Regions from separate parts of the Homo sapiens genome. Here all the other regions are linked to region 1. Evidence: promoter capture Hi-C in 16 types of primary human blood cells and fetal thymus (Javierre and others, 2016). All regions are on one chromosome and are shown on one strand. Each heading gives the region's core, a stretch centred on a gene start or on the middle of the fragment in contact. The rest is flanking DNA. Distances are from core to core; before and after follow the strand shown. Region 1 holds the start of OR9A2 (olfactory receptor family 9 subfamily A member 2). Region 2 holds the start of GSTK1 (glutathione S-transferase kappa 1). Region 3 overlaps LOC105375546 (a long non-coding RNA gene). Region 4 has its middle 6.7 kb from the start of TAS2R40. Region 5 has its middle 5.7 kb from the start of TAS2R39. Region 6 has its middle 15 kb from the start of TAS2R39.

Region 1 (4,806 bases), core at 1,297-3,796:
TCCCTGATTGGTAAGATTTCAGGTTTTCCCGTCAAACAAAAACTTTCAAAAGTTCTAAAACTTAATTGGTCAAAAAATGGGAATAACTTAAAGTTTGTTCTGCTCCCACTAGACTGATTGCCTGGGGACTCCCTGAACGTGGGCTAATTAAGAAGTAGTAACTCGGTGATTAAGTACCCTTGGGAAGAAGGGAAGAGGGAGGAGAGGGGAGAGAGAGAGGACCCTCAACTTTGCCCAACACTCATTTCTGGGCTTTTTCCTAAGCTCCTCTGGGAGGACATTTCCCTTCTTCGCCATGAGTGGGGATTGCAGCAACTTGTTCTGGCCCCTGTGCATGGCTCAGCACTAGCAGGACAGGAGGTAGCCTCAGCGGAGCCCTAGAGAACATCAGAAGAGGCGGCGAAGCCCCTCTGTAAAGGTGAGTGTCTTTCCAAGGGGTCTCCTCTATGAAGAAGAGGGTAAAAGCATTTTAGGATGGGACATCCTGGGCCTGCCTATCTTCTAGAACAAAGTCACCCAGATATTGAAGTGTGGGCTAGGGGAGCAGTAGAGTGTATAGGCTCATCTCCAGACCCTTCCTGCATAGCAGAGAGCACTTCCGGCTCCTCTTGGACCCAATGCTAACACAGTCACGGCTCCCTGACAGTCGGTGTCCTTCTCGCTCATGTTTCTTCATCTCGTGCTGGTTATGCAGAGGTTGTGGAAAACCAGAACACTGAGCTTTCCCATCAATTCTGTCCCTGAAGCTTTTTAAACCATTAGTAAAACAGTGACGTAGACAGGGAAGGGGTTACCTAAGCAAGGGAAGGGCAGGAGGGAAAATGGTAATGTGAGGCAGGAAGGAAAACCAACCAGAATAGGATTGAGGGAATGTGGCCCAGGCCCTGGCCAGAACAAGTATTATTTAATCATATATTATCCATCCATCCATCCATACCTCATCTAGCAAAATTTGTCAGCACTACTTATTTTATGTATATGATACATATATCTTATGTATTTAAATATCTTATAAATAAAAAATATATGTATATTTTATATAATATAAGATATATTTCATATATCTTATTTCATATATCTTATATAAATAAGATAAATAATATAAGATAATAATATAATATAAGGTGTGGTAGTTAGCTGTGTGAGTGATGAAATCTGACAGACCTAGGTTCAAATCTTGACTCACACAGCTATTAGTTCGGTTACCTTGTGATAAATTAATACATAATTTAATATATAAGATATATCTATGATATATTCATTTCACATAATGTATCTGTCTATATCTATATAAAAGATATATGATATATATATATAAAATATATAACTACTTAATTTATGTATGTACATTTTATGTGCCAGCCTCAGAATACAACAGTGAAGACATGTCCTAGCCCTCATGGAGTTTATATTCTAATGCCGTTGATAAATAATAAATACACTTAAATTTCCTCTCCTTCTTTCTTGCTTATTTTTTTCCCTGTGACATGATAAGCAAACTAAACTATTGCATATTTTACTTAGGTGTCTTGTGTGTGGTCTAGCCCCCACCTCTTCCTTGAATATAAGCTCCACAGGGCATGGAATTTTCTTTGTTCTGTTCATGACTACATTTGTTTATTGTTAAATAAAGGAATGAAGTAAATAATTAGACATAATACAAGGTAATAACAACTGTTATTAAAAAAATGGAAGTCCAATAATAAGTGTGTCTTTTCTGTTTTGGGCAGAGTGATTGGAAAGAGTCTTTGGAAAGGGTGACATTTGAATAATGGAATGAAGCGACAGGCAGAGAGCCAGGCATCCTTAACAGCTGGCGGTCCCAGATCTATTCCTTTTCTGTGCCAGGTGCCATCTTTCCTTCCTCCCACAACTTTGGAAGGAAAATGGAATTAGAGAAGAATGGATCTGTTCTGGGAAATTATCCCAAGCTCTAGAGTTCTCATTTAGAGATCTTGCTGTTCTGTAAAATGGAGATTTTAAAATCTGGAACAGCAGAGATGTTAGTCTTACATCCTCTGCCTCCTTTCTGCTGGCCCCAAAGGTGGGTCTATGCATTACCATTACAGATGAGAGCTGGGGTTTAAAATTCTGTCCTTTGAACATCATATAAAATGCCTTTGTGTCATCTTGCACAGTTAACCTAAGAGAAAGTAACTCCAGGACCGGAGGGACCTGATTGACTCACCTTTAAAACTGGCCTATTTAAAAGGTCTTAGCCTCTGCCCCCGAGAGAAGGTATATTTAATGGGGAAAAAGGCAAGGAAGGTATTTCACCACCAGTAGAAGAAGATGTCTTCACCCATTCTAGGGGGCTGGTTACACAGGGAAGTGAGAGCCTCACTTGTAGACTTGGGATGACAACATGTACCTCAAGCTATGTATGTGCCGACCACAGTAGCAGGGACATGTCACCTGATTCTCAGGTTGGAAATAGTTTCTTAACCTAATTTTTCTTCCTTCTCTCTTGAGAGCAGGACCATGTGGAGCAATGCCACCTCTCTTTTAATCTCTGGGCTTCAAAACAAGCAGAATCAAGGACTAAATGATGGACAACCACTCTAGTGCCACTGAATTCCACCTTCTAGGCTTCCCTGGGTCCCAAGGACTACACCACATTCTTTTTGCTATATTCTTTTTCTTCTATTTAGTGACATTAATGGGAAACACGGTCATCATTGTGATTGTCTGTGTGGATAAACGTCTGCAGTCCCCCATGTATTTCTTCCTCAGCCACCTCTCTACCCTGGAGATCCTGGTCACAACCATAATTGTCCCCATGATGCTTTGGGGATTGCTCTTCCTGGGATGCAGACAGTATCTTTCTCTACATGTATCGCTCAACTTTTCCTGTGGGACCATGGAGTTTGCATTACTTGGAGTGATGGCTGTGGACCGTTATGTGGCTGTGTGTAACCCTTTGAGGTACAACATCATTATGAACAGCAGTACCTGTATTTGGGTGGTAATAGTGTCATGGGTGTTTGGATTTCTTTCTGAAATCTGGCCCATCTATGCCACATTTCAGTTTACCTTCCGCAAATCAAATTCATTAGACCATTTTTACTGTGACCGAGGGCAATTGCTCAAACTGTCCTGCGATAACACTCTTCTCACAGAGTTTATCCTTTTCTTAATGGCTGTTTTTATTCTCATTGGTTCTTTGATCCCTACGATTGTCTCCTACACCTACATTATCTCCACCATCCTCAAGATCCCGTCAGCCTCTGGCCGGAGGAAAGCCTTCTCCACTTTTGCCTCCCACTTCACCTGTGTTGTGATTGGCTATGGCAGCTGCTTGTTTCTCTACGTGAAACCCAAGCAAACACAGGGAGTTGAGTACAATAAGATAGTTTCCCTGTTGGTTTCTGTGTTAACCCCCTTCCTGAATCCTTTCATCTTTACTCTTCGGAATGACAAAGTCAAAGAGGCCCTCCGAGATGGGATGAAACGCTGCTGTCAACTCCTGAAAGATTAGCTGTTCTGTAAGTCAGTTTTAGGTGGTCCAAGCCTCAGGGTTAATTATTAAGTCACCTAGAAAATTCTAACTCCTCTTTTCTCTTATCCTCTCATTACAAAAGTCAAAGAGTGTGTACAATTCGCCATCACACCATGGAAGTAGATTAGGCTGGTAATAATGAAATCCATTGTCTGTCCAGGAGACTCTCATAGCCTTAGTTCCTGCCTGTTTCCACTGTTGAACATATTCTTGTGATTTGGGGGGGACTAGAGAAAGGAAATGCAGACATTTTTGTAAGAATTCTATTAGCCCAACTCATTTCCTCATAGTCCATCTCTGAAAATGTATTTTCTGGGGAAGGGAGGAAGTGTGGAGGGAGGTGTACTGAGAAAGGTGTCCTAATCAGAGTAGAAAGGTAGAGATGCTCACTTTGGTCCTTCATCACCTGTTGCTAAGTTCTTCCCTATATTTTTGTGCAATTTTTTGGCAAGATGGCCATATGCATTTTAGATATCCTAAAGCTCTTTCTCTCTGCCCCATTGATACTGGAAAGGAAGTGTAACACTGTTTACGTTTTGTCACAGAACCAGTCTAGAATGGCGATATGAGGATTGGAATGCTTCTCATTCAGGAGATATTTGTGGTGTAAAGAAGATAAAAATATTTGAGGATAAAAATGGAGGAAAATTTATTTTTGTTAAGCTTCAGCATATTCCTTTCACTGCCCTTCTTTGTGGTGAGTATAGGGACAGGGGCAAATAAGAACTAAATGACTAATTCTAGAGAGCATCCTGTATTTTATGGCTGTTAAACACAACTATGTCTGTTCAGACTGTATCCAGATCTAGACTTCAAACTTTATAATGTCTTTTGATTCTCCGTCTCTCAAATCCAACAGTCTCAGTACCATCATGTGTATCTTCTCTGTGGGCAGAATTTTTTAAAAATAAGAGGCCATTCTTTTGACTCCCGGCTTTCTAGAAATTATAGGGATTGGCTGTTTGGTAGTGTAACTGTTGGAATTTCACATAATATTGGAAGAAGTCCTTATAAGGAAGAAGTTTACCTAAACAACAACAATCAGCAGATTCTACCAGCCCTAAAGTAAGTGAGAAAATTGAGCTGTTCAGCAGTGGGATGATGAGGCTACTGAGAATTTTGAAGAGTACTGTGTGAGGATGCCAGGTTGTCTTGTCCTGTGAGGAGTGATAACCGTCATGTATGTTTGGGTAGTTTGCATTGCATTAAAGTACCAGACAAGGTGGGGAATGAGCTTTAAATTCAGCCAGCCCATGCTCTGCAAGCCAACCAATGGACTCTGGTGGCACTGCATTGGCTGGAGAAAG
Region 2 (4,806 bases), core at 1,132-3,631, 240 kb before region 1:
CTAATTTAATCCTGAAGACAAACTTACTTTTATACCCCCATCCATGGCTCACTGGTCAATGTTTTGAGCTATTTCCATTTGTTCTCACTCAGGCTCCTATATAACCCTGGCATTAGTTATCTCTTTTCGTCTTTTTAAAGCCTCTTGGAACAAGTCTCCTGCCTTCCACTCTGGATGTGTTGGTGAGGTTTGTGTTGGAGTTTGTGGAGACTTGTGAATACTATATCCCTCCCCATCCAGGGGTTCCAACACTGAGCATCTTTCTCTCACTGACATCTTTCAGCAAATAAATTCTTCCCATATATTGTCCCTTTTGCACTTCCCCTTTCAACCTTGAGATATCCTTTTGAGGATCCTTAGTTCCAACTTTTCAGTAGTTTGTGCCCTGAATCACAGACATCCTTTCTTCCCCAGTAATTATAACCTTTTCCATGCAATAAGAGACCTATTGTCTTCTTTACCCCCAAACGCCAACTGTTCTCAGATTCTCTATGAGTGCAGTTGGGGTGGAGCCAGGACACTCACCGCCAGGATGCTCTGCGGCTCGGTGATGTCTTCATTCTGGGAAGAAGAGAAGACAGCAGGAAGGCGGTGCGGGGAGAGGGGTGTGACTGGGAGGACAGTAGATCCCCCGGGCGGGGGCAGGATCATGACCCTGAAAACGTGCCTGGGGAAGGTCAGAAAGTCATCCAAGGTCCTCCCAGAGGATTCCCAGAGCCCCACACTCACCCTTGACCAGACGCGCATCCACAGCTCCCGGGACGCTTTCTCCAGCATCTCTGGATGCTCCAAGTTCACGGCGGTGAGGAAACGCATGGCAGACAAACTTCCTGTGGGGCAGAGGCACCCAGAGGCAGGGCTCCTCTTGCTGCTTTCCTGGTGGAGGACTAGCTCTTCCTTGCTTCTGACATCCCCCAGAGCTCCTCCGCCCTCAGCCTCTCACCCAAGGTTCCCATGACCTATTTGCCTGCTCTTCTTCCCTTTCATGCCCGGCAACCTTCAGCTCGCTCAAGGCTGATCCTGAGGTTTCCCAAGGCAGGCTTCACTTGCTTTAGTCTCCCGCAGCCCCTCCATCCTATCAATCCCTCAATCTCCGACTTCTGTGTTTTTCACTGGATACCCTGTCTACATCCCACTCTCTTCACCTTTTTCAAGCATCACAGACAAGAAATCCTTGGGGAAGTGGATGGGAATCTGGAGATGGTGTCTCAGGAGCTTTAAGTCATTTGCCATGTATAGTCCTTTGCGGGGAAGCAGACCTGGAGGCTTGTTTCCTGCCAGGAGAAGGTTGGGCACGCTAAGTGAGAAAAGACCTAAGGGTCCCAGGTTTGGGGACCTCGACGTGGGTTTTGGGCAGAGGGCAGCTTCCTTTTTTTTCTCTTGTTGTTTCGCTCTTGTTGCCCAGGCTGGAGTGCAATGGTGCGATCTCAGCTCACCGCAACCTCCGCCTCCTGGGTTCAAGCGATTCTCCCGCCTCAGCCTCCCGAGTAGCTGTGGTATACAGGCATGCACTACCACGCCCGGCTAATTTTGTATTTTTAGTAGAGACGGGGCAGAGGGCAGCTTTCTGGCTGCCAGTGCCAATATAAGGACCCGCTGGGGTCGGCTCTCTTGGGCCACTGAGATCACCCCTGCCCCGACCCTCCCTTCCTACCACTGTCTTTCATGATCCCTGTTATGAGGCTGGGCCGCAACTGCAGGTTGATGTTCCAGATATTCTGATACCGGCACAGGATCTGCGGGCAGAGGTCAAGAACGATTGCCAGTGTGCAAGATGGAAAAGTGAAAGAGCCGAGGGAAAGGGAAGGGAGGCGCTAAGTGCAGAGCAGGGGTTATGCGGACACCCTACATTGTTTGGTTTGAAATTGGCAAAACTCTCCTCACTACTAGAAATCTATTCCAGGATCTTCGCTCCTGTGGCCAGTTTTCCCCAAAACTGCCATCGTTGGGCTAAGAGGTGGCCGTGTTCTGCATTTCTCCCTGAATGTTTGGAGCCGCCCCTCTTTCCACCACCGTGGGAAACTGCAGTCGGGATATAAAGGCTCGGGTTGGAGCCAGCGACTCTATTCCGTTTAAAAGCACAAAGTGACCTTCAGCCCCGGAGCTCTCCCTGCTTGCCTTAACCCCTTGGGCGGCGCCAGGAGTTACACGAGACCTCTGTCCCGGAGCCCTGCGCTCACTCTTCCCTCCGCCCTCACTCCCCAGACACTGCCGAGGCGACCCCTCCCAGCGTCACCTCGAAGCCCAGCCAGGAGTAGGGGGACAGCACGTCATAGAAGAGCTCCACGGTGCGCGGCAGGGGCCCCATGCTGCAGGCTCCGGAAGAGCAGTGGCAGCAGGAGCTCCTTTTCCCGGAACCCGGCAGAGGCTGCCCAGCTTCTGGGCCTGCCTGGGACCGCCCACCGCCTTAGCGCGCAGCCTCAGAGAGAAACTGCCCTGGTAGAGGTCCACCTCCGGCGCAGCGGGGCAGGGCCAGCCTACGGCCCCCAGCCAGGGGCGGGGTGGGTAGGGACCCCTTGGGGAGCGCGCAGGTGTGGACAAGGGGCGCTGCAATCGCCTTTGCAAAAATTTTAACAGTGAGAAAATTACGAAGGTGAAACAGATCTGAACTCACCAACTCCATCGTGCCTTTAACCTCCAAACTGCCCTTGGTCATTCCTGAGCATGGGACGAGCTAATATAGGGAGAAATTTAGTTTATAGTTTAAATGATAATAGCCCTTCCCCAAACTAAACCAGTTTTATAAAACTAATAAAAGTCCACAAGTTTAGGATTATGAGAGGGGCCTGAATTCTGCTAAGATGTAGGCATTAACAATTACCAGACATTGTTCCAGAGGTCACAAGCTCTGCAACTTCCCCAATTATTCCTGTAAATAACCACTTTTGTAGAACCTAAGACTGGCCTTTGAAGATACCTTCTCAGACTTTTCCATTTCTAATGACAGGATGACTCCACCTGGACCAGTGACTCCTCTGTGGCCCGCATCCAAATGCAACTCGGTGCACTGAGGACGGTTTTCCACACCCCTGTGATTGCATCCCCAACCAATTAGCAGCACCCATTCTCTAGCCCCTTGCCCATCAAACTATCATTAAAAAACTCTAGCCGGCGGGCATGGTGGCTCACGCCTGTAATCCCAGCACTTTGGGAGGCTGAGGTGGGTGGATCACTTGAGGTCAGGAGTTCAAGACCACTCTGGCCCACATGGTGAAACCCTGTCTCTACTAAAAATGCAAAAATTAGCCGGGCATGGTGGCATGTGCCTGTAATCCCAGTTACTCGGGGGGCTGAGTCAGGAGAATTGCTTGAATCCGGGAGGCAGAGGTTGCAGTGAGCCGAGATCATGCCACTGCACTCCAGCCTGGGTGACATAGCAAGACTCCCTCTCAAAAGAAAAACAAAAACAAAAACAAAAAAACCCACAAAGTCCCCTAGCCTCTGCCTCCGAATTTTGGGAGGCTAATTTGAGTAATAATAAAACTCTGGTCTCCTGTTTAGCTGGCTCTATGTGTATTAAACTCTTTCTCTATTGCAATTCCCTTGTCTTGATAAATTAGCCCCATCTGGGTAATGGGCAAGATGAACCCATTGGGCTGGTGTCAGGGTGACTGTCCTGCTCTGCAGTGGAGTCTTGTGGGAAGGGGGTAGTTTGAGATGCCTGCAGTGCCTTTCACTTAGCTGTGCCCCTTGGGTGAGCCACTTGACCTCTCTGAACCTATTTCCTCATCCTGCATACACATGGGGAATATCTAATGATAACACCTGCCTTATGACGAGTTGTGAGGAATGAGGTACTCCAATAACTGCTAGCTCTTATTATTGTTGCTTGGCAGTTGCATGAATCTCCTAAACTGGGGCAGAATAAGAAGTTCTCAGAGTACACATTTTCTTGTGTTACCTTTGTCAGAGATTTGCACAATGTCTGGGACACATTTGACCATCGATACATATATTTTGAGTGAGTGAAAAAAAAGAGGGACTGGTAGAAGATGGAGAGGCCTCACTATAGATAATTTTGGTGATAATGGAAACGATTGGCCCTATTCGTTTTCACAAATATGTGAGTCATATTGTCTTATATTGGGATTACATTTACTGCAAAGAAACAGAATTTTAAAATAATTCCATTTAACTTTGTTAAAATTATTTTTAACATTACTAATTTAATAAATTGGAAAACATATAAAGATTCCACTTTTCATTTGTATCAATAAGGAAAACAACTCCAGGCTATCAGAATACAGAGATACGAGGTAAACCCCTACATGGAGAAGAGCATGCAAAATGGAATGAAAAATGATGTTATCATTACCTACTTGCAGAGTAAACTAATTGTTCAACAACCACTGAAACTAAACTTTTTTTTTTTTTGAGATGGAGTCTTGTTCTGTTGCCCAGGCTGGAGTGCAGTAGCACAATTGCAGCTCACTGCAACCTCTGCCTCCTGGGTTCAAGCAATTCTCTCTGCCTCAGCCTCCCAAGTAGCTGGGATTACAGGTGCCCACCACCACGCCCAGCTAATTTTTTGTGTGTTTTTGGTAGAGATGGGCTTTCACTATGTTGGCCAGCCTGGTCTTGAACTCCTGACCTCAGGTGATCCACCCATTTTGGCCTTCCAAAGTGCTGGGATTACAAATGTGAGCCACCACAGCCCACCTTGTTTTTTTTGAGACATGATCTCACTCTCGCTCAGACTGAAGTGCAGTGGTTCAATTTTGGCTCACTGCAACCTCTGCCCCCCAAGCTCAAGCAATTCTCCCACCTTGGCCTCCTGAGTAGCAGGGACTACAGGTGTATGTCACC
Region 3 (4,806 bases), core at 1,676-4,175, 220 kb before region 1:
GAAAAAATAAAAATAGCTGCATTACATATCGTGTAATTTCTCCTAATTTCTCAGACTCTAATGTCTTTTCCTTCCTTCCTTCCTTCCTTCCTCCCTCCCTCTTCCTCCCTCCCTCTCCCTCCCTCCTTCCTCCTTCTTCTTTTCTCTCTCTTTCTTTTTCTTTCTTTCTTTCTTTCTTTCTTTTTCTTTCTTTCTTTCTTTTTCTTTCTTTCCTTCCTTCTTTCCTTCCTTCTTTCTTTCTTCAGCTTTATTGAAGTTTAACTGACACATAATAAACTGCACATATTTAAAGTATATGCCTTGGTAAGTTTTGACATGTGTATATCCCTGTTAACTTGCCATCACAATCAAGATAATGAACATTTATGTCACCCTCCTTCCAAATTTTCTTACGACCCTTTGCAATCCCTTCCTCCATTTCTCCCTGCCCTCCATCCCCACTGATCTGGTGTCTGTCATGATAGATTATCTTATAAATATATATTTTTGTACATTAAAAGTTTTTGTGCTCCAATATAAACTTGAGAAGCCAGAGTCATTGTTTCACATTGTCACATTTGGGAGGCAGCCTCCTGAAGATTACAGTGGAGGAGCTTTATCAGGGATTGATTTTATGATCAACACCTGTGGAGAGGAAGTGATGGGATGGGAAGAGAAGGGAAGAAAATGAGAGAGTCAGGCAGAGGGAAAGGTTGGCTGTGGTGCTGTGATGCTGTCTCAGCAAAGGACCCTGTCAGTTCTACAAGGAATTCTGAGATTGTACTGAGTTCCGGTGAGTTGGCTGGGACTTTACATCCCCTTATGAGCTAGTCTCAGGTTATGCGCTGCCCTGGGAAGGGGCCCTGACCTTGGCTGAGGTGACTCTTCAGCTCAGGGCTGACAGCTGAAGGCTGCTGGCAGCACCTCACCTGCTTGGGTTTATGTCTAAGGGAGCCTGTGCAGAACATCGGTGTCCCCAGTGCAATAATCCTGGTATTTCTCCCATTCTGAGCCGTTCTTTGAAAACACAGTTGTTAGAGAAACAAAGTTGAAATGTGGGAAGGGAAGGGATATGGAAATATTTTCAGAGACTCTTCTTTTTTTAAAAGAATTTGAAAGGATAGTGAGAACAATCCTTAAATTCATGTCAGAAAAGAGGATTCATTTGTTCATTAATTCACACGTTTATTCATTTCACTAGTGCAGGATTTCTTAACCTCAGCATATTGACACATTGGAATGGATAATTATTGGTTGTGGGGGCTGTTGTGTTTATTGTAAAAATGTTTTTGTAACATTTCTGGCCTCTACCCACTGGATGCCACTAGGTGCCCAGGTGTGACCACCAAATATTATGCTAAATGAAAGAAGATGGATGCAAAGTACTATGTGTTATACAATTTCATTTGCATAACATTTTCAGAATAGACAGGAAGCAAATCAGTGGTTTCTCCTAAGGCTGGCAGTGAGAGTGGGGATTGACTGAACATTGGCATGAGGGAACTTTTAAGGTGACAAAATTGCCAAGTGTTTCCTGGTGGCATCAAAATCACCCTGGTTGCAAACCTGCACTGGTGTCTATTGAGTGTCTCCTCTGCCTCATGCACTGTTCTGAGTGCTTGGGGTTATAAGCACTCCATCTGATGTGGGAGTCAAAAGGCAAAACATCAATTGGCAAATTCAATACAAAGTGTGTTTTGTGTGTGCGTGTGTGTGTGTGTGTTGAGGGAAGGAGTGTTAAGGATGTTGAGAAAGAATCAGGGAATGCTTCTCAGAGGAAGTAACCCTAAATGAAGACTTGAACTGTAGGTAGGAAGTAAGTAGACCGTGGATAGCACTGTAGTCAGGGTTGCAATTATAGAATACAATAGACTGCATAGCTTATAAACAGCAGACATTTATTTCTGGTAGGTCTGGAGGCTGGGAAGTCCAAGATCAAGGAGCTGGCAGATATGGTGTCTGATGAGGGCTCACTTTCTGGCTCACAAATGGCCATCTCCTCCCTGTGTCCTCATGTGGTAGAAAGGACAGGGAACTCTCTGGGTCCCTTTCATAAGGCCACCCACCCGATTTATGAGGGCTCCACCCTCATGACCTAATCATTTTCCAAAGCCCCCACTTCCTAATACCATCACCTTGGGGGTTAGGATTCTAACCTATGAGTTTTGTGGGGACACACACATTCAGCCAATAGCAGAGAGGAAGAGCAGATAGATATTCCATACAGAGCCAGCAACATTATGGAAAAGCCCATTGTCTGGAGTCTTGAGGAACTGAGAGAAATTCTCTTTAGCTGAAGGATTTGAAGGAGGGCAATGGTGAGAGATGAGGCTGGAGCTACGGCAGGTAGAGGCAAGGCAAAGTCATGTGACAAGATTTACAATCTCTCCTGGAATAACCTCAAGCTTAGTGTGATCTTAAAAACGTATTTTATAGAAAAGAAGTAATTTCATTGCCTAAGTACTCAGAATTGCTTCCTGTTGGTGTAGAAAAACATACAGGAACTGTTAGTAATTTACTCTTGCGATGAATCACACAGCCACATTTATTTTTATTGTTTGGCAAACACACATGTAGCTTACTACATCAGTCACTCTTCTAAGTACTTTATAAATATTAACTAATTTAATCCTTTTAACAACCCTACAAGGTAAGTACCATTTTTTAGCAACTTGATATATTTGCCATAAAGATCACCCATTGTAAGTGTACCATTCAATAGTTTTTAGTATATTTATACAGTTGTGCAACCATCACTACAATTCAGCCTTAGAATGTTTTCATCATCTCAAAGTCTTTTCTTTTTTTCTTTGGTGCTTGCTACTTTGTAGTCAATCCTGGTTGAGAACCTGCACTCAATCCCACTCCCACCCCCTAAGAAACCACGGATCTTCTTTTTGTCTTTATAGATTTGTCCTTTCTGGAAATTTCATATAAATGGAATCATGCAATACGTAGTTTTTTTTTTTGCATCTGACTTTTTTCTACTTAGCATAATGTTCTTGAAGTTCATCTATGCTGTAGCATGTATTTATAGTTTTAAACATTTTATTGCTGAATAGTATTCCATTGTATGGATGTAACACATTGTTGATGGTCATTTGGATTGTTTCAGGTTGTTGTCCATTATGAATAGTGCTGCTGTAAATATTTGCATTCAAGTCTTGGCATAGACATGTGTGTTCTTTTGGATAGATACCTAGGAGTGGAATTACTAGGTCTAATGGTAAGTCTATGTTTAACTTTTTAAGAAATGGACAAACTGTTCTTCAAAGTGGCTATTTAGGTAGATACTATCATCATCATTTCCCTTTTATTGAAGGTGAAACTTCTACAGTGTCATAAAGCCTGTGAATGGTGGCAGTAGGAATTGAACTTATGCCATTCACCACGAACCTCTGTGACCTTAACACTAAACTTTGATGGCTACTTCCTTTGTTTAAACTGTCATCAGTTTCAAAAAAAGATAATAAATAAATAAAGCTTGCCTTCTTTCCCTTACCTGATCTTGGTTTCAAAACTGCTAGAGAATACGTTGTCTAGTTCTGTCCATGGAATTATGCCTGCGGGAATTTCCGTGATGTTCTTTTCCTTCTTTGCTTCTAAGATGATTCCCTAGGCAAATCTCAGGCCACTCAAGTATTTTCATTTTCACGTCCTTTCTGTGAGAAACATGAACAAACCTAGGGAGTGTTTTGAAAATGAGATTTTTAAACTCTCCAGTGACAAAGTCCTCTTTCCTGGACCAATAACTACCTTCAAAATAACATTCTAGCTACTGACTTAGTCTGTGTGGCTGGTGGATTTCTTTTTAATACAGCAGCTGGTAGGCTACAAAGCACGTGTCAGTGACAATGCATGGGCTGCCTGTCAGGAGCTCCCGAGCCAATTGCTCAGAGGACCCTTCACCTCTGGCTGGCAATTGCTTCTTTCTGATGTTAAAGGTCACCACAGCAATCACCTACTACTGCTCTCAAGATTTGATGTGATCACAACACTCTCTGCATCTTCACTTTGCCAAGGATTACAAAAGAATGAGGCAGCCCACTGTCTAACATGTTCGGAGCAAACTAGTAAGGAGAGGCACTGTGGGGCTTTTAGGTTAACATACACATGATTGATGATATGCAGGAAGGATTGTTCTTGAAGAGATAGGAACTACCTAGAGCAAAGACTCAAGCATACTTAAGGCGACAGCAAGATTCCTCTGGGGTCTTTGAGTTCTGGTAATACATTCTTAGGGCCTGGATATTTTCTATCTAGGTGCTATTATTCTGGGAATGTAACTTGCCAAAAATCATGTAAACTAGTAAAAGGCAGAACTGCGATCTTAACCCAGCTTCCAAATCTTAAGCCCTAAACCATACTGCCTGCCAAGACTCCTATTCTCCCTAATTCCTTTGTGAGCTTCCAGGCTAAGTGTTCCACTTTTATATTCTCATGCCATCTGTGTTTTCTCTTATCATGGACCTTACCATATTACGTTGAAGTCATCAGTATCCTCCACCATGCTCTGTTTCTGCAGGGAGGAAAACGCATGTGTGTGTTTTTAACCTCGGATTCGGAGAGACTTGAGTTAATCATCAACTTTAATTTATAGCTCACTATTGTACACGAAGTCCCTCCTTCGTTTTTTTTTTTTTTTTTTGCTTTTGGATGGAGTCTCACTCTGTCGTCCAGGCTGGAGTACAATGGCGTGATCGCAGCTCACTGCAACCTCTGTCTCCCGGGTTTAAGCAATTCTCCTGCCTTCTACTCTCCTGAGTAGCTGGGATTACAGGCATCTGCCACCATGTCCAGCTAATTTTTGTATTTTTAGTAGAGACA
Region 4 (4,806 bases), core at 1,316-3,815, 200 kb before region 1:
TGTGTTTGTCAATGTGTGGTGTGTGTGAATGTGTGTGGTGGTGTGCGTGTGAGATGGTGTGTGGTGGTGTTTGTGTGAATGTGAGTGTGGGGTGGTGTGTGTGAATGTGAGTGTGGTGTGTATGAATGTGTGTGTTGGTGTGTGTGAATGTGAGTGTATGTTGGTGTGTGTGTGAATGTGTGTGGTGGTGTGTGTGAATGTGTGTTGGTGCGTGTGTATGGTGTGTGTGAATGTGAGTGTGTTGGTGTGTGTATGTGAATGTGTGTTGGTGTGTGTGTGAATGTGAGTGTGTGTTGGTGTGTGTATGTGAATGTGTGTGTTGGTGTGTGTGAATGTGAGTGTGTGTTGGTGTGTGTGAATGAATGTGTGTGTTGGTGGGTGTGAATGTGTGTGTTGTGTGTGAATGTGAGTGTGGTGTGTGTGAATGTGTGTGTTGGTGTGTGTGAATGTGAGTGTGTGATGTGTGTGAATGTGTGTGTTGGTGTGTGTGTGAATGTGAGTGTGTTGGTGTGTGTGAATGTGTGTGTTGGTGTGTGTGAATGTGAGTGTGTGGGGTGTGTGTGTGAATGTATGTGGTGTGTGAGAATGTATGTGGTGTGTGTGAATGGGAGTATATGTGAGTGTGTGCATGAGGTGTGTGTGAAAGAGTATAAGAGTGTGTGTGTGTGTATGTGCGGTTCAAGTGAATGTGTATAGGTTTCTTGTTCACAAAGTTATGGAATTGGTGTGAATATCATAGCTGAGTTGAAAGGTAATACTTGTTACCTGAATTTAGCCTCAGTCATTTGGGTGGAGCTTAGGGTGACCAACTGTCCCAGGTTATCCAGGACAGAGAGGTTTTCTGGGTTGTGGAACTTTCAGTTTATAAAATCTGAGTGGTTGGTCACCTTAGTGGTGGCAATAGATAAAGGGTACAAATTGTGAGTAGTTGTATGTTTGAAGGGTACTTGGTGGATAAGGAAATAGAAGAAAACTCAGGCAGCTGAATAGATATGGAAGTCAAGGGTGAAGATCTTTAAAACAGAGAGAGTGGCCAACAGTGCCCCACCCTTAAGGGGATCAGAGGCAATGGAGACTCAGGCCACAGGTTTGACTTTTTAAAATATTATTAACTTATTCAGATCAGGACTTACTAGGCATGTTTTTTAGTTATTTAGCCTTCAAAAAAAAATTCTGCCATTGGGTACAATTAATGCCATCAGTGCCAAAAACGTAAATTAGAATATAGACACAAAACTTAGTGAAATAACTCATGAAAGATAAAATATTAGGCAAAGGTGTTTGAATCACTTAACAATTTGATTAGATAACAAAGAGGTTAAGACCATTTCTTGTAGTATTTGGAGATATTTAATTTTTATTATGTTAAGATAAATCTCACATAAATCTTAACAAATCTTAGTTAACTCTTATGAGTAGAGTGTGAGTGTCAGGTGCTATTCCACTGAGCAGTGAGATGAGGGAAGAACGGGCCTATGGGGTCTTGGTGTTTTCCGCAGGTCACATTGCCACTCCCTCCCTGCCAAGCATTTCCATCACTCATGGTCTCAGCTGCACTCAGGGCCGCCAGCCATAATCTACTCTCCAGCTACTGGTTTGAATAAACCACTGATTTATTTGCAGTCCCGAGAGCTGTAGGCAGGAAATGCAAACAGCAGCTTTCCCTCGGGAGGGCTAGATGTAATGGGACCCTTCTCTGTTTTCCATCCTCAGGCTCTGATGGGAATCTCTGAGGAAGCTCAGTGGAAAATTTCTTTTTCTCTCAGCCCTGATTTCTCCTAAATGGCTCAGTAAGACCGAGAGAAAAGGATTTTGTCCTGAGTTATCTGCTCCCCACGGTGAAGGAACTAGGGAAAGAAGATCAGGATTAAAAAATTGTTTTTAGAGGATAGGCGTTTTAATTGTGCACATTTGAGGTTTAGGGTACATTCCTGACTCCACAGTACATAGATGACTACTCAGGAATTTTTCACATTATAATTTAATCCAGTATTCTTTTCTAGCCTGTGTACTCTTGGAGGGTAAAATTTTTGTTGAGTTGATCTTTATTTACTAAAAATGCATTAAGAAATACATTTTTGTTGAATGAATGAATGCACTTATCTTCATATCGTGGTTTACAATTTATTATAGACATATTTTATTTGAGTCTCATAGCAACCATGTGTAGCGGATGTTATGATTATTTCTGCTTTCCAGATGGGGAGACTGAGGCTCAGAAAGGTTTAGTGACTTTCCCAAGATCACACAGAATGGAGACTGAAGTCTAGATCTTTGACACCGAATGTAGATTCTTTCTATACACCACATTTCCCATCATTATTCAATAAACCAGCCTGTTGCTTAGTCATCTAAAAGAACACAAAAATACAAACATTGCCCTGCTGGATCAAATTCACAAGGAGAAAGCACTCAGAAAGCCTAGTGTTCAACCTCAACAGAGATGGTTTGTAGAGGCATGACTATTTCAAACTCATTGTTATCAAGTGAGTAGCTTCAGGGCAATAGCTTTCAAAGCCTTAAGGAGAAACAAAATTTGGGCTCCGTGTCTATCCTTAGCAGGTGGGAGACAGGGGACTAGAACATTAGCTTTCTGTTTATTTTTTTATTTTATTTTTTTACAAAGAGCTAGTGGACTCTATTTTAAAGATTGCACAGGGACAGAGAAAAGCTGGAGAAATTGAAAGTGGCAAAAATATTGGGGAAGTTGCCACGTTCAAAACATGGCAAAAATTCATAAAAAAGGATGAGTTCATGTCCTTTGCAGGGACATGGATGAAGCTGGAAACCATCATTCTCAGCAAACTAACACAGGAACGGAAAACCAAACACCGCATGTTCTCACTCATAAGTGGAAGTTGAACAGTGAGAACACATGGACACAGGGAGGAGAACATCACACACTGGGGCCTGTTGCGGGGTGGGGGGCTGGTGGAGGGATAGCATAAGGAGAAATACCTAATGTAGACGATGTGTTGATGGGTGCAGCAAACCACCATGGCACATGTATACCCATGTAACAAACCTGCACATTCTGCACATGTATTCCAGAACTTAAGGTATAATAAAAAAAAAAAAAGAAAGAAAAAATAACATGGCAAAAGTTGCCACAATAAGTATCCCTGGTTTTGCAATGAAGTGTGACTGGGTCCTGGGGAATGCTGTGCCTTCAGGGGTAGGAGAACATGCCTGAGTGAAGGGTCTGCAACTGCAGCCTGGGGGCAAATCTGACCCACTGATTCTTTTTGTTTTGTATGGCCCACGAGATCAACTAAGCAAAAATTTCACCCTCCAAGAGTGCACAGCTGGGAAAGAATGGACATGGCTGTGCTCCAACAAAATGTCACATCATGAAATATTAATTTTTTAACCATTTAAAAATGCAAGAGGCATTTATTAAAAATGCATTTTTAATGGTTGAAAACATTAAAAGAAGAATAATATTTCATGACACGTGAAAATTATATGATATTCAAATGTCAGTGTCCATAAACAAAATTTTGCTGGAGCACACCCATGTCCATTTATTTATTTTTTGAATCACCATGGTGGCTTTTGTGCTGCAACAGAAGAGTTGAATTCTTCTGGAAGGGACTGCATGTGGCCCACAAATCCTAAAATATTTACTCTCTGGTCCTTTACAGAAAAAGTTTGCTGACCCCTAACCTAGTGCCTGTTAGGTTCAAATCTACACTCAGATAACTGTCGGGCAGCTAAACTGTGGAATACTAGATGTCTTTCATTTCTGACATTGTCAGGAAGTGAACAGGAATCCAATTCTTAAGGCCACCCTACACTTTTCACCTGCCACTTGGATGACTGAACTACTGGATCCATGGCCATGTTCTGCCACCAAGCCTGTGGGACTATAAAGGCTAAGCCTTCTGTGTGCATCTGGCCCAGTCTGGTCTGTCCTTTTCATATCTGGCCTGCTTTAAATATCCTCATTCTAGATGCCTCTCAGTGTCACTCCACTTCCCTTTGGAATACTAACAGCTAACATCTATTGATGGCTTACTCTGGGTCAGATGCTGTGTGCTAAACACTTTACCCCATTCTTCTCTTAGGATGAGATAACCCTAGGAGGCTGGTATTTCCCATTATTGTTCCCATTTTACAGATGTGGACACTGAGGTTCAGAGAGATGCAATAACATGCCCATTTGCACACCAGTAAGTGGCAGAGCCAGGACCCAAACCCAGTCTCACGACTCTGGGAACTGCACGGGCGGGGGTGTGGAAGTTGAGGGGATGCAGGTTTTTCTGTTAATGCTCCACCCTGCCTTGGATCCCCTCCTGCTACTGCTGCCATACTAAACCTAGGGGGTGGCTGGTACTTTTCTTTCTTGGGCTATCTTCAAAACCACTTTTCTCTTATTTTCTTCTTGATGCAACTGAAAGAGGGTAGAACATTCATAAGACACTTTGCTAAAAAAAATAAGAAAAACCAAATGAGAGACAAACCAGGAAAATTTTTTACAAATCTGTATTCTTCCTACTGACGTTGTTTGATGGGCTAGCGCCACAGACACAGAGCACCTTTGCAATACCACACTGGGAGGGAAGAGTCCAACCCAGAAATGCTCCTCTTCAAAGCTCTTGGAAAACTTTGTTTTGCTGCTTACAGGGTAATCCCCACAGGCCTAGGCAGAATTGTCAGTTAAGAGCTTCTCCCAACTGAGAGTGGCCAAGATTAACTCAGCACTCAACACCTCCACATCTTCCCCTTTAGGTTCCCACTGCCCCAGCCCTTCACACCACCCATTTTCTGCTGTCTGCTCCCATTTTCCGCCCAGGCCTGCCCTTC
Region 5 (4,806 bases), core at 806-3,305, 160 kb before region 1:
AACAACAGTATTGAATGCAAATGATAGTATATTAAATGCATTGCTTTTTTTTTGCGCCTAATAATACATTTGGAAGCCATTCCAAACACATAAATACATTTGGTTCCTTTCTCTTTCTATCTTTCTCTTTCTTGTGCCTCTTTTAATATTTTCTTTCTATAGCTTCTTACACTGAACCTTTGTATTGATATCAATTTGTATTGATGATATCCTATGATTTTCCTATTTTTTCTATTATAAACAATGCTGTAACATGTAACCTGTGTACATATGTTATCTTTTATGTGTTCAAGTATATGTATTCTTGTTTCGCTCATGTAAAATTCTTGAGTGAATGTATGTACCACCATGATTTTCATAGCTATTACTAAACTGTACTTGAGGCAGTAGCAATTAACACTTCCATCATTTATGAGCTCACCTGGTCCCTATGATCATCAGCACAGTGTGTTTTCAAACTTTTTGATCTTTGTTAATCTGATAGGTGAAAAAGTACATCTCAGAGTAGTTCTTATTTCTATTTCTCTTGTAGTAAATCAGGCTGAGCATCCTTTAAATTTTTTAAACAAACTTCTGAAAGCAACTTAATGAATTGGAAAAATCATCTAAATGTTATATGAAAACAAAAGATTACAAAAACTTTAGTATGAACCCAGTTTTGTTAAACTACACACACACACACACACACACACACACACACACAGACACACACGCTTTAAAAGTTGTCTCTGGGTTGAAGGATAATGGATGATTTTTAATTTTAATTTTTAAATACCTTTTCACATTTTATAAGCTTTTAATTTCTTAAAAGCCACCTTTATTTCATTTTCTCTAACTATCAGTTCATATCCTTTGCCAATTTTTAACTTCAGTAATTGTTCTTATTGATTTGTATGAGCTCTTAATATATTCAGAAAATTAATCTTTATCTGGAATGTGAGTGGCAAATATTATTTCCCAGTTTCTTGTTTGTCTTTGACTTTGCTTAGGTAGTTTTTGCCATGTAGTATCTTTTTACTTTATGTAACCAGATTAAATAAATCATTTTATGCTTGTTTTTTCACTTATCATGGTTAGAAGGGTCTTCTCAACTCTAAAATTAACTTTGAAATCTCCAAAATTTCTTCTAATATTTAATAGTTCCTTTTTTAAATAAAAACATGAATTATTTGATTTATTTGGCCTAGTATAAGATGTGAGAGAGACATCCAAAATTTTTTTCCACTTTGCTAGCTAGTTGTTCTAACATAATTTATTGAATAATCCATTATTCCTTTACTAATACCACTTTTACCATATACTAAATTCTCATTTTTCTGGATGTCTACTCTGTTTTATTGAGTATTGATTTCCACTGTCACACTATTTTGTGTTTTTCAGCTTCATAACATGTGTGTTATTTCATGGGGTTAGTCCTCCCTCATTACTTTTTCATTTTCAGAATGTTTCTGGCCATTCTTGCTTCATTTTTTCCAGATTATGTTTATTATCTGTCTAAAAAATTTTTGGCATTTGTGTCAAATTACAGTAAATGTAGATTCATTTAGGGAAATGTTGTATCTGATGACATTGACATTTTCCACTCAATAGCATGGTAGCCTTTCTCCTGTTCAAGTCTTCTGTGTGTATATCTGAAGCATTTAAAAGTAGTCTTCATATAGATTGTGATATGGACAGGAGGCAGCGAAATATTAGGTAGAAAAGGGCGGGTCCTTCTTGAAGCCCCACCCTCAAGCCTGGACTCACAGCCCAAAGTGAGAACATGCATTTCTGTTTTCCCGCTTAAATGTTGCCTCTTCCAAATTACCCTGGCCTGCTCCACCCCCGCCCCCCACATCCTGTGCCCATAAAAACCCCAGGCTCCACTAGCAGCAGAGCATCAGAGGAGAGAAGAGAAAAAGCAGCTTAACATTGGCAAGAAGCAGCTTGACTTCAGAGGGTCGGCTTGATAGCTGGACCTTGGAGAAGAGATGGCCTAACTCCAGAGGAAGACCCCCTTCCTGCTCTATCCACTTCCAAGCCCTTCATCCCACTGAGAACCACTTTTATCAGCAATAAAATCCCCTGCATTTACCATGTTCAGTTTGTTCCTGCGACCTGATTCTTCCTGGATGCCCAACAAGAGCTTGAGATACAGAGGGCTATCACACTGAGCTGTTAAACACTAAAGCCGTACATGGATAGCAAAGCTATAAGAGCACAGTAACACATGCCCTCTGGGGCTCCAGGGGTCATGGGTACCCCGCTGGATGCTGCTGTGGGGCCGCAAGGAGTTCTGCTCCTGCCGGCATCCAGAACTCCTCCTGGTCCCTGCACCCACTCACCTGCATGCCTCCCCTCCTACAAAGGATTTGAGAGCTGCAGGCTGAATAAACGAGCAACTCCCTTTGTGAGGCCTATGAAGGGGTCAGGGAAAATTTCCTGTTTCAGTCGTGCTCATTTTTTGTTAACTTTATTGCTCTAGTATCTTATTTTTTGTTGCTGTTTATTTTTTTCCTTCCATATTTCATGCTTTTGTTATTTAGAATAATATTTTAGTTGCTTCTCTTGGGTTTTTTATTTATATAACCATCTGCAGATAAGATACTCCACCAGGAAACTTCCAATTTTTTAAAATCCTTTAAATTAATTTCACTTCTTCTAGTTGTACTGGATACTTATCTAGGGTTAACATCAGTTAATAGGGTGAGGGTAAACATCTTTGTCTTTTTACCTGAATTTAATGGAAATAATAATGTTTTCTCATTAAGAATGATGCTAGCTGTTAAATTAGCCAGGCACGGTGGTTCATGTCTGTAATCCCAGCCACTTGGGAGGCTGAGGCAGGAGAATTGCTTGAACCTGGGAGACAGAGGTTTGCAGTGAGCCAAGACTGTGCCATCGCACTGCACTCCAGCCTGGACAACAGAGTGAGACTCCGTCTAAAAAAAAAAAAAAGAATGATGCTTGCTAGCTATTAAGAGATAGATATATTTTATCATGTTAGGAAATCATCTATTTTTATTGTAAGATTTTTTAATAATTAGGAATGGTTCTTGAATTTTATTTTTCAGCACTTAACATTATTATATGATTTGTCTCTTTAGTATTATTAATATGGTTAATTATATTGATATGTTTTCTAATATTAAACCATCTTTACTTTTATGAAATAAACCTGTATTCTAGATTTAAATTTAATACTAAATCTTATTTAGTATTTTTGTATAAACACTGATAAGTGAGGTGAGGTTTATTTGTAGTTTTCTGGGAGACAATTTTTGTTAGGTTTTGATATCTAAATTATATTTATTTCACAAAACAAATTTGGAAGCTTCCTTTAACTTTTGTGCTGTGAAACAATTTACATAGACTTCATATTATTTGCTTTTAAAAAGTTGATAGAATTCCCTTGTGAACATCTGGTGCCAGCATTATTTGAGGAGTGGCTCTTCACAACTTTCTCTAGCTCAACTGTGATGATTATTCTGCTTAGATTTTCTTGAAGTCAATTTTAGTAAATTATATTTTTCTAGGAACATCTATCTTATCTACGTTTTCAAACTCTAGCATAGAGTTAAACAAAATAGTTTCTTAAAAGTACTGCAATTTCTCTGATTTGTAGTTATTTTTCTTTCATGTCTTATTTTGTGTATTTATGCCTTTTTTCTTTCTTGATTATGTAAGCTAATGATGCCAATTTTACTGCCTCTTTTCAATGAACCAGTTTTGTATCCGTTTTAACTTTTTTATATTTTATTTATCAAATCAATATTTAATATGTTCTGATTTCCTTAGATTTATTTCGTAATTATCCTAAATGTTTGGTTTATATTTATAATTTTTTATTTTTATAATTTTGTTTTATTTTTAGTTAACATGTAGTAATTGTACATATTAATAGGACCCAGTGATATTTGGGTACATGTATACCATGTGGGATGATCAAATCTGAGTAATCTGCATATCTATCACTTCAAACATTTCTTTGTGTTGGAAACATTCAAAATCCTCTCTTCTAGCAATTTGAAAATACACAGTAAATTATTGTTAACTATAAGTCACCCTACAGTGCTACTCTAGAACTTATTCCTCTATCTAGATTTATATATATATATATATATATATATATATATATATATATATATATATATATATTTTTTTTTTTTTTTTTCTGAGATGGAGTTTTGCTCTTTTGCCTAGGCTGGAGTGTAGTGGTGTGATCTTCGCTCACTGCAACCTCTGCCTTCTGGTTTCAAGCGATTCTCCTGCCTCAGCCTCCTGAGTAGCTGGGATTACAGGCACCCACCACCACGCCTGGCTAATTTTTGTATTTTTAGTAGAGACAGGGTTTCACCATGTTGGCCAGGCTGGTCTCGAACCCCTGACCTCGTGATCCACCCGCCTCAGCCTCCCAAAGTGCTGGGATTACAGGCGTGAGCCACGGCGCCTGGCCTAGATTTATATTTTTAACAATTACCTCTTTATATCTTATTTACTCATTTAGGCCTTTCCTGACTGGGCTGATCTAACACCACCACCATGATGTGCTATTCATTCTAGGTTTTATTACCAATGCTTTCCCACTAGACTAGAAGATCCATGATGACAAGAGCCCTGTTCATTGTATACATAGCAACTGGAATAGAATATGCCATATAGTTGGTGTTCAGCCAATACTTGTTCAACTAATAACTGAATGATCCTCTACTTATACACGTCACAGGACAGAAACATGGGACTTACTGATGAGTTGCATGAAGTGAGTAAGACAGAAGACACATCCATGGTGGTTCCTAGCATTCTGACTTCACCAGTGGAAATAAT
Region 6 (4,806 bases), core at 1,025-3,524, 140 kb before region 1:
TCGAGGGATGGACAAGGCACTAATGATTGCTCCAAGGCTTCTTACTGTACACACCTGCAACTCCAACCTTGGGGAATCTCTTGGAGTGCAAGACCATACTTCTACTCTTTGTTTCTGTGAGATTGACTATTTTAGTTACCTCCTGTAAGTGGAATCTTGCAGTATTTGTACTTCTATGCCTGGCTTATTTCATTTAGCAAAATATTCTCCTGGTTACAGGTTCACTCGTGGGTTTTTTTTTTTTTTCCTTTTTTCTGGAGATGGAGTCTCACTTTGTCGCCCAGGCTGGAGTGCAGTGGTGCAATCGTGGCTCACTGCAACCTCCGCCTCCCAGCTCAAGTAATTCTCCTGCTTCAGCCTCCCGAGTAGCTGGGATTACAGGTGTGCACTACCACGCCTGGCTAATTTTTTGTATTTTTAGTAGAGACAAGGTCTCACCATATTGGCCAGCCTGGACTTGAATTCCCAACCTCAGTTGATCCGCCTGTCTTGGCTTTCCAAAATGCTGGGATTACAGGCATGAACAACATGCCTGGCCAGTATTTCCTTTTTTTTTTTCAAGGCTGAATAATATCCCATTATGATATTACATATATACGAATATATATGAACATTCCATAATATTCCATATATATATATATAAATTTCTTTATGACATATAAAGAAATTGTTGAGAGTTTTATTATAATTTCTTTACCCATTTGTCCATTGGTTGTTTCTATATCCTAACTAATTATTGTGAATAATGCTGCAGTGAACATGGAAGTGCAGTGCTGGTATCTCTTCAAGATTTTGATTTCACTTTTTTGGATACATATGCAGAAATGAGATTGCTGGATCATATAGTGGTTCTATTTTTATTTTAAGGAAGCATCGTGCTGTTTTTCATAGCAGCTTTACCATTTTACCTTCTCAACAACAGTGTACAGCATTCCAATATCACCTCCTCCTCCCCAGCACTTATCTTCCTTTTTTAAAATCATAACCACTATAACAGGTGTGAAATGACATTTCATTGTGGTTTTGATTTGCATTTCCCTGATGATTAGTTATGTTAAACACCTTTTCATATGCCTGTTAGGCATTTGTATGTCTTCTCTGGAGAAATAGCAATTCAACTCTTTTCTCTATTTTTTATTTATTTATTTATTTATTTTTAGATGGAGTCTTGCTCTGTTGCCAGGCTGGAGTGAAGTGGCGCAATCTCGGCTCACTGCAACCTCTGCCTCCCGGGTTCAAGTGATTCTTCTGCCTCAGCCTCCTGAGTAGGTGGTACTACAGGCGCCCGCCACCACTCCCAGCTAATTTTTTGCTTTTTTTTTTTCTTCAGTAGAGACAGGGTTTCACCATATTGGCCAGGATGGTCTCAATCTCTTGACCTCATGATCCACCCTCCTCGGCCTCCCAAAGTGCTGGGATTACAGGAGTGAGCCACCGCACCTGGCCCATTTTGTAATTTTTATTTATTTATTTACTTACTTATTGCTATTGAGTTGTAGGGGTTTCTTATATTTTTCGGATATTAAACCCTTATCAGACATATGATTTGCAACTATTTTCTCCTATCCCACAGGTCGCCTTTCAGTTCTGTTGACTATTTCCTTTGCTATCGAGAAATTTATAGTTTGATAAAAACTCTCAACAAACTGGGTATAGGAGGATTTTTTCTCAACATAATAAAGGTCATGTATGACAAACCTGCAGCTAGTATTATACGCAGCAGTGAAAAACAGAAAGCTTTTCCTCTAAGATCGGGAACAAGATAAAGATGCCCCCTCTCATCACTTCCATTCAACATAGTGCTTGATATGGTTTGGATTTGTGTCCCCACCTGAATCTAATGTTGAATTAGAGGAGGGACCTGGTGCGAGGTGAATGGACCATGGGTAGGGATTTCCCCCTTGCTGTTCTCCTGATAGTGAGTGAGTTCTCACGAGATCTGATGGCTTAAAAGTGTGTAGCTCTCTCCTAGCTCTCTCCTGCCACCATGTGAAGAAGGTCCTTGCTTCCCCTTCACCTTCTGCCATGATTGTAAGTTTCCTGAGATCCCCCAAGTCATGCTTCCTGTAAAGTCTGCAGAACAGTGAGTCAATTAAACCTATTTTCTTCATAAATTACCCAGTCTCAGATAGGTCTTTATAGCAATGTGAAAATGGATTAATACAGTACTGGAAGTTCTAACAAGGTCAATTAGGCAAGAAAAAGAAATACAAAGCATGTAAATCAAATCACAAGGCATTCAAATGAAATCAGAAAAGAAGAAGTAAAAGTATCTTTGCTCATAGATGACATGATACTGTGTGTAGAAAATCCCAAAGACACTTCCAAAAAACTTAGAATGAATAAACAAATTCATTAAAGTTACAGGATACAAAATTCACCTATGAAAATTTGTTGAGTTTCTATATACTAACAATGAACCACCTGAAAAGGAAATTAAGAAAACAATTCCGTTTACAAAAGCATCAAAGACAATAAAATAGAAATAAACCAAACCAAGAAGGTAAAGGACATACACACACACCAAAACATTGATGAATAAAACTAAAGAAGACACAAATAAATGGAAAAACATCCTGTGTTCATGGATTGGAAGACTTAGTGTTGTTAAAATATCCATACTATCCAAAGCAATATATGGATTCAAGCTATCCCCATTCAACCCCAATGGCATTTTTAATAAAAATAGAGAAAATGATCTAAAAATTTATATGGAAACACAAAAGATCCCAAACAGCCAAAGTGATCTTGAGAAAGAACAAAGCTGAAGGTATCATACTTCGTGATTTCAAAATATATTACAAAGCTTCAGTAATTAAAACTACATGATATTGGCATAAAGATATACACATAGACCAATGTAACAGGATAGAGAACCCAGACATAAACCTACTCAGGTATGGTCAACTGATCTGTGACATGGGCACCAAGAATACATAATGGATAAAGGATAGTCTCTTCAACACATTGTGTTGAGAAAATTGAATGTTCATAGGCAAAAGAATAAAACTGAAATATTATTTTACACCATACACAAAAATCAACTCAAAGTAGGTTAAAATACATTAAAGATTTAAACATAAGACATGAAACTATAGAACTCCTAGAAGAAAACACAGAGAAGAAACTTCTTGATATAGGCATTAACAACAATTTCTTAGATAAGACAAGAAAAGCACAGCAACAAAAACAAAAATAGACAAGCAGGGATATATTGAACTAAAAAAACCTTAACTTTGGATAGGTTGGAATGAGGTATCTGTAGTGTTTTATTAAAACATGGATAATTATAAGTAAGAATAATTATAAGGGTTGGGGCACTGGATGACTGCTGTGATTGGTTATAGAAACCCAGAAGAAGGCCAGGTGCGGTGGCTCACACCTGCAATCCCAGCAGTTTGGGAGGCTGAGGCAGGCGGATCACAAGATCAAGAGATTGAGACCATCCTGGCCAACATGGCAAAACCCCATCTCTACTAAAAATACAAAAATCAGCGGGGTGTGGTGGCACATGCCTGTAGTCCCAGCTACTCAGGAGGCTGAGGCAGGAGAATCGCTTAAACCTGGGAGGCGGAGGTTACGGTGAGCCAAGATCATGCCACTGCACTCCAGCCTGGCAACAGAGTGAGACTCTGTCTCAAAAAAAAAAAAAAAAATGAAAGAAAGAAAAAAAGAAACCCAGAAGAAATGACAGAGTCAGATATGTCAATGATCAACTCAAAATATAGTTTCAAAGTCAGAAGGTCTTCAAGGCAGTTTAAAAAATTCTCACCTCTTGCAATTTTCAGTACACCTACAGAAAATCAGTGATACTAAGGCCTAAGATTTCATAGTAATGGTGGCATATTTAAAAAGGATTGAATTCACAGCCTTAGCAAAGATTCCTGTGATAAAGTTAGGACCTTTGTGAGAACTAAATGTATTCTAGGGATTGGGATTAGGAGATTTGGATAGACGCACATAAGAACGTTGAATCTCCAGGTTCCCTGAATCTTTAAAGTTTGCTAGAAAAGAGCAAACTTTCTTTGCATGGAGAACATGCATAGACCTCATCTGAGATAATGTTTTACCTTGTTCTTGAAATTTGCCCATGTCTTTCAACCCATTGATTTTAGACAATCGCTAGGGCCAAGTATCAGTGTGACCAAAGAAAGGAAGGACTATCCCTGTAATGGAAAGGAAAAGATGACTCACCAAAGTGCTGGCTAAATTTTATTAACAGGAATGAGGTGAAGATGCCTGGGAATGGATTTTGACTATTTTGAATCATAGAAAACACAATAAAAGATTAATTAGAGGGGGGCGGTTCCAAGATGACTGAATAGGAACAGCTCCAGTCTACAGCTCCCAGCATGAGCAACGCAGAAGACAGGTGATTTCTGCATTTCCAACTGAGGTACCGAGTTCATCTCACTGGGGCTTTTCAGACAGTGGGTGCAGGACAGTGGGTGCAGCACACTGAGTGTGAGGTGAAGCAGGGCGAGGCATTGCCTCACCTGGGAAGTGCAAGGGGTCAGGGAATTCCCTTTCATAGCCTAGCAAAGCTGTGACAGATGGCACCTGGAAAATCGGGTCACTCTCACCCTAATACTACACTTTTCCTATGGTCTTAGCAAATGGCACACCAGGAGATTATATCCCGCACCTGGCTTGGAGGGTCCCACGCCCACAGAACCTCGCTCATTGCTAGCACAGCAGTCTGAGATTGAGCTGCAAGGTGGCAGCAAGGCTGGGGGAGGGGTGCCCGCCATTGCTGAGTCTTGAGTAGGTAAACAAAGCAGCTGGGAAGCTCGAACTGGGTGGAGC

What was found. The method cuts DNA at HindIII sites, captures the fragments that hold promoters and counts their contacts. A CHiCAGO score of 5 or more calls a contact.
Region 2: the fragment with the promoter of GSTK1 here is called in contact with the fragment with the promoter of OR9A2 in region 1 in 7 of 17 cell types (neutrophils, monocytes, erythroblasts and 4 more); the score reaches 10.7 in neutrophils.
Region 3: a contact is called between a fragment that was not itself captured here and the fragment with the promoter of OR9A2 in region 1, in 1 of 17 cell types (naive B cells). The highest score is 5.1, in naive B cells.
Region 4: a contact is called between a fragment that was not itself captured here and the fragment with the promoter of OR9A2 in region 1, in 5 of 17 cell types (total B cells, naive B cells, monocytes and 2 more). The highest score is 10.2, in total B cells.
Region 5: a fragment that was not itself captured here is called in contact with the fragment with the promoter of OR9A2 in region 1 in 11 of 17 cell types (naive B cells, total B cells, M1 macrophages and 8 more); the score reaches 13.5 in naive B cells.
Region 6: a contact is called between a fragment that was not itself captured here and the fragment with the promoter of OR9A2 in region 1, in 2 of 17 cell types (total B cells and naive B cells). The highest score is 6.9, in total B cells.

The regions. Positions count from the first base shown.
Region 1 is chr7:143,024,872-143,029,677 of GRCh38, reverse strand. OR9A2 (olfactory receptor family 9 subfamily A member 2) reads left to right here and starts at 2,546. Exons shown (of 1, transcript NM_001001658.1): 1 at 2,546-3,478. The coding sequence starts at 2,546. The coding sequence ends at 3,478. LOC105375544 (a long non-coding RNA gene) reads left to right here. Exons shown (of 2, transcript XR_001745395.1): 2 at 1-418. The HindIII fragment of the contact is 3,416 bases long and covers 749-4,164 here.
Region 2 is chr7:143,261,016-143,265,821 of GRCh38, reverse strand. GSTK1 (glutathione S-transferase kappa 1) reads right to left here and starts at 2,381. Exons shown (of 8, transcript NM_015917.3): 1 at 2,237-2,381; 2 at 1,655-1,736; 3 at 1,146-1,274; 4 at 730-830; 5 at 526-561. The coding sequence starts at 2,308. All of the region lies in intron 2 of TMEM139-AS1 (TMEM139 antisense RNA 1), which reads left to right. LOC105375546 (a long non-coding RNA gene) reads right to left here. Exons shown (of 3, transcript XR_007060569.1): 3 at 2,615-2,674. RefSeq lists enhancers at 2,134-2,353, 2,172-2,466 and a silencer at 2,494-2,563. The HindIII fragment of the contact is 19,965 bases long and covers 1-4,806 here.
Region 3 is chr7:143,242,952-143,247,757 of GRCh38, reverse strand. It overlaps LOC105375546 (a long non-coding RNA gene), which reads right to left. Exons shown (of 3, transcript XR_007060569.1): 2 at 3,482-3,641. Among named protein-coding and RNA genes, the nearest start is that of GSTK1, 18 kb to the left of the region's middle. RefSeq lists a silencer at 681-857. The HindIII fragment of the contact is 1,078 bases long and covers 2,387-3,464 here.
Region 4 is chr7:143,226,378-143,231,183 of GRCh38, reverse strand. No RefSeq gene overlaps it. Among named protein-coding and RNA genes, the nearest start is that of TAS2R40, 6.7 kb to the right of the region's middle. The HindIII fragment of the contact is 8,703 bases long and covers 1-4,806 here.
Region 5 is chr7:143,186,692-143,191,497 of GRCh38, reverse strand. No RefSeq gene overlaps it. Among named protein-coding and RNA genes, the nearest start is that of TAS2R39, 5.7 kb to the right of the region's middle. The HindIII fragment of the contact is 2,520 bases long and covers 796-3,315 here.
Region 6 is chr7:143,165,848-143,170,653 of GRCh38, reverse strand. No RefSeq gene overlaps it. Among named protein-coding and RNA genes, the nearest start is that of TAS2R39, 15 kb to the left of the region's middle. The HindIII fragment of the contact is 1,069 bases long and covers 1,740-2,808 here.